2 separate regions of the Homo sapiens genome follow, and region 1 is linked to region 2. The links are contacts of gene promoters, found by promoter capture Hi-C in human tissues and cell types (Jung and others, 2019). All regions are on one chromosome and are shown on one strand. Each heading gives the region's core, a stretch centred on a gene start or on the middle of the fragment in contact. The rest is flanking DNA. Distances are from core to core; before and after follow the strand shown.

Region 1 (4,725 bases), core at 45-2,544, 48 kb after region 2:
GGGATTACGGTTATATGAGTCTCCCATCAGGAGGCCAAGCAGCCTGCAATTACTAAAGAGCGGTCCTTTTGATTTAAAGGAAAAGTTTCAGAAATGGACTAAAACGTTGAATAATACACATGATTAGTAATTTGTAGCTGTGGATCAGGGGTTCCCCTCTACCAGAAGTGTTTGTTGAAAAAATAATAAAACCGACACCTGTGGGGAGTTTTAGTATTTCATTTTTCTCTTGATTCAATGGAAGTTCTACAAAACTATTACAGCTCTGGGAGGACCCAACCAGGCTCTGTAATCACCTTCAGAAAATTTATCTGTATATTCCATTGTGGTAAAGCACTGAATAAAATCTTTTCAAGCAGCATCTTTTATATGATGCCCTGGATTTTTAAATGAAAATGGGGGTCAAATTCTCTCATTTTCCTTACAAAAGAGTGAAAAGAACAACTGTGCGGCCTTGATGGCCGCACCAGAAGGTGATTTGATAAAAGGCGGACTCTGGGTGAATGCTGGACTCACATCAATGCCTTATTGTGAGTGCTCCCTGAGACAAATGAGCACTGGCTACGATTTAAGCTGTGTAATTAAATTTCACACAATATGAAGCAGCAAATGACATGTAAATTATGAATGGCCTATTCCTTACTTTCCATGACAGTGTTAAATAAGGGAGGTGTAAGTGAAATCATTAGATTATACTGGTCGGCAGAGACTTTCAAAGGTTGTCTTCAAGCACACACAGCTAGTTTGGCACAAACGATGTACTCTGAGACTATTTCAAACGGTGTCAGGACAATAAGTAACCAGCCTTTAATTGTGTTTGTCCACCTAGGTATAAAATAGACATTATCGCAATATTGTATCGCACACCAAGATGCTCGGGTTTTACCTAAAGTATGACATGACTGGACACCCACTGCAGCTTCCTTGTTTTAGCTGCAGTGAACATAAATATAAACTGGGATTCCTTGAAAGAGATATAAGAAAATACTTACAACTTTAAAAAAATTAGAAACTTCATTTCTGACAATAAAGCTTATTATCAATAACTATAGATTTTCGGTTTAAAGAATAGCCATGACTTATGAAAATAATAATGCAATCTTCCAATTTAAAAAAAAAATAAATGAAGCCCCATGGGCTACCTGTGCACACCTACACAAAAGACTTGGAAAATGACATTGAAAACTCATTTCTTTAGATGTCATATAACATTAAAATAAGTCAGACAGAGAACAAGTTAGAGAAAGGCTTAAAAAAAAAAGGTACCATTCTGAACACCAAATTCTACTTAGTAAAGTACTCATGTTGGTTGCAGTTTTAGCTGTAAAGTTTAATCTTTGGTAAAAAGGTGATTAAATAGCAGTATGTGAACACCTTAAACTATCATCCCTTAACATTCCCTTCTTAATGAGAACAAATCCCTCTTTCAGTAGAAGCTTTAGCTGAAAAAAGGGAAAGCCCATACCCTTTGCAAGGAAGCTCATTAAAAATGTGGAATGCTGTAAAGAACCTTCTCCCCATGCAGAGTCTTTCTGCTTGAGTAAGTATGAGAAGCCTGGAGGATAAATGTTCCTCTCTTGTCTCAAGTAGTTGTCTTGCACCCACTGCCTCAGAGAAAAGAGACACAACTTGTTAGTCAACAGTAATTTTGAAGGGATGGAGAAGGATTAGAGGGGGAAAAAGCTAACATCTCATTTTCTTTCTCAATTGTGTATCTTTTTAAAAGCACAGTGAACTCATCTATCCTAAATATTTGCAACAAATCAAGCGACAGGAAAGGGCTTATATTTGGATATTTTTAAGAATGCATATTTTCAATGGCTATCCTTAAAGGATATTTGTTTTTCATCACAGATATTTTAACAGTGACATGTTAATTTTAAAATGGTCATCTAATTTAAATGATATGCTTTTTTTTTTTGCTCATTATACAGAATTGCATTTAAAGAAGCCAAATCTTGAGTAGAAAAGTTTACATCTGAGCTTACTTATCTTTTGTTATTATTTAAAGTACTTTTGTTTTTATTCAATAATAGCCCATAAATAGCTATAGGGAAAACTGCTCATTTCTATATTTAATACTTTCCTATATATAATATTCAAGGTATAAAATCTGTATCAGGTTGATCATTATTTATATTATATTGCACACTGAAAAAAATTATTTTTCTATAAAAAATTCCAATAAGCACACTTATCTGAAGTACTTTTAGAGCTAAATAGCTGTTTAAAAAATATATCTTAAGACATAAGAAATTAGAGCTGAATAAACTATATGGCAAATTAATATATAAAAAAATCTATATTTTAGCTAAGAATGCCTTCTAGTTAATTATTTAAAATTAATCATACATATGATACATGAGCTGTAAATAATCATAGCTAAATATACTTAAAAATGACTGTAATCTACAGGAAGAACATACATTTGTCTATCAAAATGCAAAATATAAAACCAAAATTACTTCTGACTTAAAAAGAGAAAGTGAAAAGATTCTTATTGTAGAAAGTCTTTATTTTAATAAGTATTTTTGAAGTCTAAAGGTTATTTTTTAAAAATTTAAAAATTTACATTTTTTAAACTCTATCATTTAATTTCAAGTTCTTTCGAATAAAATGTAGATTTCTGTAAGGTAATAAAAAGTTCACTGGTCCTGCTTTTGAAGGCTGTTAAGGAAAAAATCATTTAAATAAACTTTGTTGTGAAGACAAGAAGGTAGGCAAAAGTTATCTTTTTACTACTTTGCCTCAATCTCAGTGATATTTACATTATTTTCATATAATCTAATTTGTGCATAGGTCAAGTTTTTTTCTGTTTTGTAGTGTTATATTGTCTTTGTGTCTGGTTTAGATGTTAAAGGTTGTGCTAAATATCTCGTGAGCTGTAATAGTTTCAGTCTGCTTACCATGGTCACTGTAGATCATTTCTGCCTAGCTTTTCAAGTATCCTCCATTAACTGTCAGGATGGTCCATTTCACAATCAAGCCAACTTATATCTGTCTGGATTACACTCTAAGGTTTCTGACCCTTTCTGAGTCGCCACTTATTACTTAAATCTTAAACTTCATTTCTGTGCTTGACAGCAATGCCATTGTTTTGCTTATTTTCTGATTGGGAGGCTGGCAGTCTCTTCTGAGACTGATGCCAACTGAGCTCTGTGTATCAGCCAGTAGGAGTCACTTGGAGCAGATGGTCATCATCCTTCCCCACAGCCCAAATCCCTGGTCTGGGTGGCAAAGTCCCAAGACCACACCTACATACATGCCAACTGTCCTTATTTACTAAGATACTCCTTCTTATTTGTTTAGCTTAATAAATCATTTGCCCTAATATCTTTCTAATGAACTTATGTTCTCATTTCAATTTTCTTTAATATATCTTCCTATTAGCATATCTCCCCACTGTCCCTATCCTTTATTGCCCATGCTATTAGAAGGTACATTTTTAAATTCAAATCTTTTTTTGGTTTCATAAATGTCCATCTTTACAGAGATTTTATATACTTACTGGTATATATGTAACAGGTTGAAATTCTATTCTGGTGAAAAAGTATATTGACTCCTTCCATTTCCATTCCTCCAACTTAAAATATTAAAGTTCAATCTTGGGTATAGTTAAAAAATGAGTAATTGTTTTATCACTCTAAACAGCATCTGAATGGCTTTTTTTTTTTTTTGAGACAGGGCCTTGCTCTGTTGCTCAGGCTGGAGTGTAGTCGTGCAATCATGGCTCACTGCAGCCTCCACCTCCTGGGTTCAAGTGATCCTCCCACCTCAGCCTCCTGAGTAGCTGGGACCACAAGTGTGTGCCACCATGCCCAGCTAATTTTTGAAATTTTTTGTAGAGACAGGGTCTTGCCATGTTGCCGAAGCGATCCCCCTGCCTTGGCCTCCAAAGTGGTGGGATTACAGGCGTGAGCCACCGCGAACAGCCTTGCCATTGAGTTGATAAAATTTCTGAAAAAGCCGATACCTAACTTAACTATAGAACACAGCATATAGTTTAATTCCTAAGAGAGCTAAAGATTCATAAAATACTCAAAATAAATTTAAGCCCCATAGTTCCTTACTCTTGGGGATGTATAGTTATTGGGAACATCCTAAGCCTAACTTTTTGAAATAGCAGTGAATTATTAGTACATGTTATTTTTGGATTGAGAAAGCAATGCATCTGATCACTCAGAAACATACAACATTCTGGTAAAAAGATGACTGGTCTCTGCTATTATAATCATAACGTAATAGGGTTAAATAATATGTCATAATAATTTGCATTTAATTTTCCCTTAGAATCATCTGGAATATCTAAGGAAGTCATCTAAGTACAGTTACAGGAAGTATTATTTCTAAAAAGTTATATCTAAATTAAATTGACATGAAGTGAAATATGCTATTTAACTTATACTTAAGTGGGACCTATTAGGAATCTTGTGTAAAGTTAAAAGATCTTTTGAAATACAAATATCGTCTTCTAATGTTTTTATAATACATTTAAAAAAATCTAGCATACTTAAACTGATGCATATTTCTACTTAAGGAAAAGAACTTGCCAAAGCAAGAAAGATAAAATCAGGATGGCAAGATATATTTCAACCTGTTAAGCTGGGGTTTAGAGTAATTTCTTTCAAGGACTAGAGGCATTCTGGAAATATTATGAAATCCACAGGAAAGAAGAAATAGGAGTTTTTGAGCCTAGATTAGATTTAACGTGGTGACATGTTTCAA
Region 2 (4,507 bases), core at 2,008-4,507:
TCTGCCAAGACTTTCCTTCTCCAAAAAATGCCAGTCTTCACCCTTTCCAGCGCGCCGGCGCTGCGCCTCTGCTTGACCGGGGAAAGAGAGAGTTTGGAGGTGTCAGAACTGTCAGAACTCCGGATGGGAGGCTCTTGGTTCTGAAGCTGGGAGCTGGAGGCACTTCCCCCCAGAAGTGGGCACTTCTTTGCCTCCCCGAAGGCCTGATGGGGTGGGCACAGGGGAATGCCAGGGATCGGTGCGGGTGAGATGCTTGCCTCACCTCATGTTGACGCATCAATACTGGCTAGAAGCTCTGGGCAGGCTCTGGCGAGCCACGGTCCCCCAGCGGGACTCCCTCCACGCAGACAGCCCCGCTACCGGGTGGGACGACCCCGGCGGCCCCCGCGGGAACGCACCCGCCGGCCTGAGAGGTCCTCCCTCTGGCCACAGGGGGCGGAGGGTAGGGGGGAACAGGGGCCTGTGGGGAGGCGGGGAAAGGAGACAGAACCTAAAGCGCAATCCCCGCCGCCCCCCCGCGTCTTGGAGGGCAGCAAGTGGGCCTCGGGCGTGTTGGTAGCCGCAATTAAAATGGCGACCTGCGAGTTGTCTCGGTTTTGTACACACCTCTGGCAACCGCGCCCGCACCTCAGTCTCGGCCCCCACACCCCTAGGCCGCTTCGCCCCCAGAGCCGGTACTTGGCAGAGGGAGTGAGGCTCCCCACGAGGTAGAACAGCACCCCCACCTTCCTTGAGACCAGTCCAGAGAGAACGAGGAAATCTCACTCTCACCCCTCTCTCCTTAAACTTTGAAAACTCGGCCTCATTCTGGGGTTGAACTCCCCTCCCCAAATATTGACACATGGGAAGCAGCCAAGTCCTTTTTGTTTTTTGTTTGTGCGGAGGAGTTTCCAGGAGTCTTTCCCGGAGCCCCCTTCCCCACCCAATGACGTCAGTGGCATTCACTCCTCGCTCCTTGCCTTTTCTGATTTTTTGTTAAAACTTTTCTCCGCAGCGAGATGGGGGTTGGAGGGGTGGGAGAAGGAGCTGATTCAAAGAGCCAGTGCCCTGGGGGGAAATAGCAACAAGATTACGGCTGCTTCTTTCCGAGGCAAAGCTTAAGAAGGTGCTAATCCACTCGGTCGCTAATTGAGAGGTTGTAAAAATGATACTCGCCTCCAGTTCGGACAGAATCACTTCCCCCCCCCCCGCCCCCCCGCAAGTCCCTCGCTCATGCACAGCGGACTTGAGTCTTGAGTCCAAGCTTCTTTAATGCTCGCTTGGAAAGTAAAAGGAGAGAGAAAGAGAAAGCCGACTTTCGCTGGTCTGGGACTCAGGGCCGCGGCCCCACTTGCCGGCATCCTCCGAAAGTCGCGCTCCTGCGAAATGAAACCTCGCCCAGGAGGCCGCGGACCTGGACACCCGGCGCCACCTCCTTCACCTCTGACCCAGGTTTCCTCCCGGCGCTGCGAGCTCCCGGGGAAGGGTTAGAGCCGGCAGCCCTCCCCAGCCCGGGGAGGGGAGAGGGTTATGCGACCCCACCTCTGGCTAGGGCCGGGGAGGCCTTTGCTTCCCGGGAGCCCTGCCCGGGCTCCTTGGTCGCAGGGCTGCTGGGTCCCAGGCAGGAACGAGAGGGTGAGGCCCACATGTGGCCCGGCGGCCCAGGGCGGCTTGCAGCGTCCTCACTGTCCCGGCTGCCAGGGGCTGCGGCGACGCGGCCAGTCAGCAGCGAGTTCAGGTCGCGCAGATTTTATTGATGAGCTCTGACTTTCAGCACTTTCCCTAAGTCAAGAAGAGTCTAGCGTACCCTTCGGCTGCTTCATTTCAGCCTCCCTGCCTCAGCTCTTCAGCCCTATTCCCCCTCGCCCTGTCCTGGGGTGTGTACAGCAGCCCAGGCCTTCCTTCTCCTTCCCGGCTCCGTGGCCCGAAGCCGCCGAGAGAGCTCGGGACAGCGCAGGACCAGGCAGCCGCTCGCTCTCCTGTCACCTTAACTGCAGGCTCCGAGGGGCGCCTTTGGAGTGTACTGAGGTGTGTCCTAATCGTGCGGCATTCAACAAATGGACTTCTGGTGTGTGGTCAGAAGAGAAAAGCCATTTACTTACTTTCCTCCCCGGTTTTCTGGCAACAGCTGAAGGGGAGCTGCCTCCGTGGACTGAGCAGACCCAGGAGAGGGAGTCGTGGTGCGGAGACACACGCACCACACACAGATGACCGGTGGCACACACGACACACGCTGACATACCGACATCGCCAGTGGGACACACACACACACACACACACACACACACACACACACAGAGAGAGAGAGAGAATCCCTCCCAGCATTGGTCATCCGCCCCCCCACCCAGGCTTCCACTCCCCCTCCCCTCTTATCTCCCCTGGCTTCCCCTCCTCTCGGGCGCTGCGAAAAGCAGCCGCACTTAGTCAACAAATGGCACGTGGGAGAAGTTGGTGAGTGTTTGGTGAGGACTCTTCAGGGCTTTTCACAAGAACCCTCTGTACACAAAGTAAGTGGCGTGTTTACTCGGGCCTCTCCAGCCAGAGCTGTGCCTCTGCTCCGCTGCGCACCGCGGCTTCCGAAAGGAGAAAGGAGAGAAGAAAGGGCGGGGAGAGCGGGGTGGAGGATTTGGACAGGCCCTGGAGGCTTGGGCTGGGGAGGCCTCTGGCCTCGTTTAGTTCTCGGCCCGGCAACCTCCTCTCGGCCTAGGCTTCGCCGCGGCCTCCGCAGCTGGAATGGAGCTGCCAGGACCCAGTGACGCTCCCGCCCCTTTCCTCTTCTTCCAAGGGGCCAGGTGGGCTGGGGTGCGGCCGCCGCTGTGCTCTGTGTCTTGGGGCCCCGGCTGGGATGGGGTGGGGGCGGGCGGGGGCGGGGCGGCAGGCCACGCTGTCCTGGAGTTGGCAAGAAAGGACAGCACAGAAACTTGCACCCTCCGAGGACTGGGAGTCCCGAGTCCAGCTTAGGGGGAGTGGGGGCGCGACCCCCAACCCAGAAACCTTCACTTGACCGCTCAAGTTCGCGGCAGCAGGGCGGGCCGCGCCGAATCTCGGCGTGCGCGGAGCGGGGAGATGCAGGCGAGCGCCAGAGCCCGGGCTCGGGGGCCCTGCGCCGGGGAGAGGAGCCGGGACCCACCGGCGGAGCCGAAAACAAGTGTATTCATATTCAAACAAACGGACCAATTGCACCAGGCGGGGAGAGGGAGCATCCAATCGGCTGGCGCGAGGCCCCGGCGCTGCTTTGCATAAAGCAATATTTTGTGTGAGAGCGAGCGGTGCATTTGCATGTTGCGGAGTGATTAGTGGGTTTGAAAAGGGAACCGTGGCTCGGCCTCATTTCCCGCTCTGGTTCAGGCGCAGGAGGAAGTGTTTTGCTGGAGGATGATGACAGAGGTCAGGCTTCGCTAATGGGCCAGTGAGGAGCGGTGGAGGCGAGGCCGGGCGCCGGCACACACACATTAACACACTTGAGCCATCACCAATCAGCATAGGTGTGCTGGCTGCAGCCACTTCCCTCACCCACACTCTTTATCTCTCACTCTCCAGCCGCTGACAGCCCATTTTATTGTCAATCTCTGTCTCCTTCCCAGGAATCTGAGAATTGCTCTCACACACCAACCCAGCAACATCCGTGGAGAAAACTCTCACCAGCAACTCCTTTAAAACACCGTCATTTCAAACCATTGTGGTCTTCAAGCAACAACAGCAGCACAAAAAACCCCAACCAAACAAAACTCTTGACAGAAGCTGTGACAACCAGAAAGGATGCCTCATAAAGGTGAGTCCGCTTCTTTCTTCTCGCTTTATTTTTATTGCAATATTCAGACAGGTCTCCCCCTTCCTCCCCCCTTCCTTCCTCCCCTCTCGCCGGTCCCCTCCCCCACTGCTACGCCGGGAGAGTTGGGCCGGAGAAGTTTCCACGCAGGAGCCCAAACTTTCTACTTCCAGCGAAAGCCCGCGTCGGAGGGCGACTGCCGGCGAGCGGGAGCGGCGCAGGGCTCGGGGCGGGCGGCCAGCTCAGCCCCAGCGCCAGCGCCAGCGCCAGCGCGGGCTGAGCTCGCGGGAAGAAGGGAGACTCCAGGCGCGACAGCAGCCGCGGCTCCTAGCCCCAGCGTCGCCCAATGCTCCCGACCCGCGGGAAAAGACGAAGAGGCTCTGTGGTGCCCAAGGCCCTGGAACGGCCGCAGAGAGCAACCGCTGCCGGCTGCTTTGTCCAGCCCGAGGCCCAGCGAACGCGCAGAGAGCGGGCGCTCCGAGGACTCGCCGAGGGAGCGCCGAGGGAACCTGCTCGCCGCGTCTCCGCCCGCCCGCCGGCCCTCGGGCTTTGTGCCGCACTGGGCTCCGGCGCAGAAGAGTCAGCCGGCACTCGAGCGCCGAGGGGGGCACCGCGCCCGCCACCAGCCCGAGTGGAGTCAGTCGGCAAGGCAGCCGCACGCTGGAGGTAGAGGGAAGAGCGAGCTAGCGCGAGCCGGGAAGGAAGCCACCAGGCCAAGGCGGTGGAACGCGCGCTCCGAGGGAGCTCAGAGCCGAGCGG

What was found. The method cuts DNA at HindIII sites, captures the fragments that hold promoters and counts their contacts. A contact is called where the count stands out against the background at its distance.
Region 1: a contact is called between a fragment that was not itself captured here and the fragment with the promoter of PAX6 in region 2, in 1 of the 25 tissues and cell types used here (hippocampus).

What each region holds. Positions count from the first base shown.
Region 1 is chr11:31,760,290-31,765,014 of GRCh38, reverse strand. The region is part of intron 9 of ELP4 (elongator acetyltransferase complex subunit 4); the gene reads right to left. The region is part of intron 2 of ELP4-AS1 (ELP4 antisense RNA 1); the gene reads left to right. Among named protein-coding and RNA genes, the nearest start is that of ELP4-AS1, 5.2 kb to the left of the region's middle. RefSeq lists enhancers at 1-1,267, 1,280-1,986, 1-2,004. The HindIII fragment of the contact is 3,665 bases long and covers 1-3,126 here.
Region 2 is chr11:31,810,072-31,814,578 of GRCh38, reverse strand. PAX6 (paired box 6) reads left to right here and starts at 3,257. Exons shown (of 14, transcript NM_001368894.2): 1 at 3,257-3,464; 2 at 3,564-3,751. RefSeq lists a silencer at 1-202, enhancers at 1,046-2,014, 3,362-3,419, 3,122-3,691 and a promoter at 3,065-3,474. The HindIII fragment of the contact is 12,830 bases long and covers 1-4,507 here.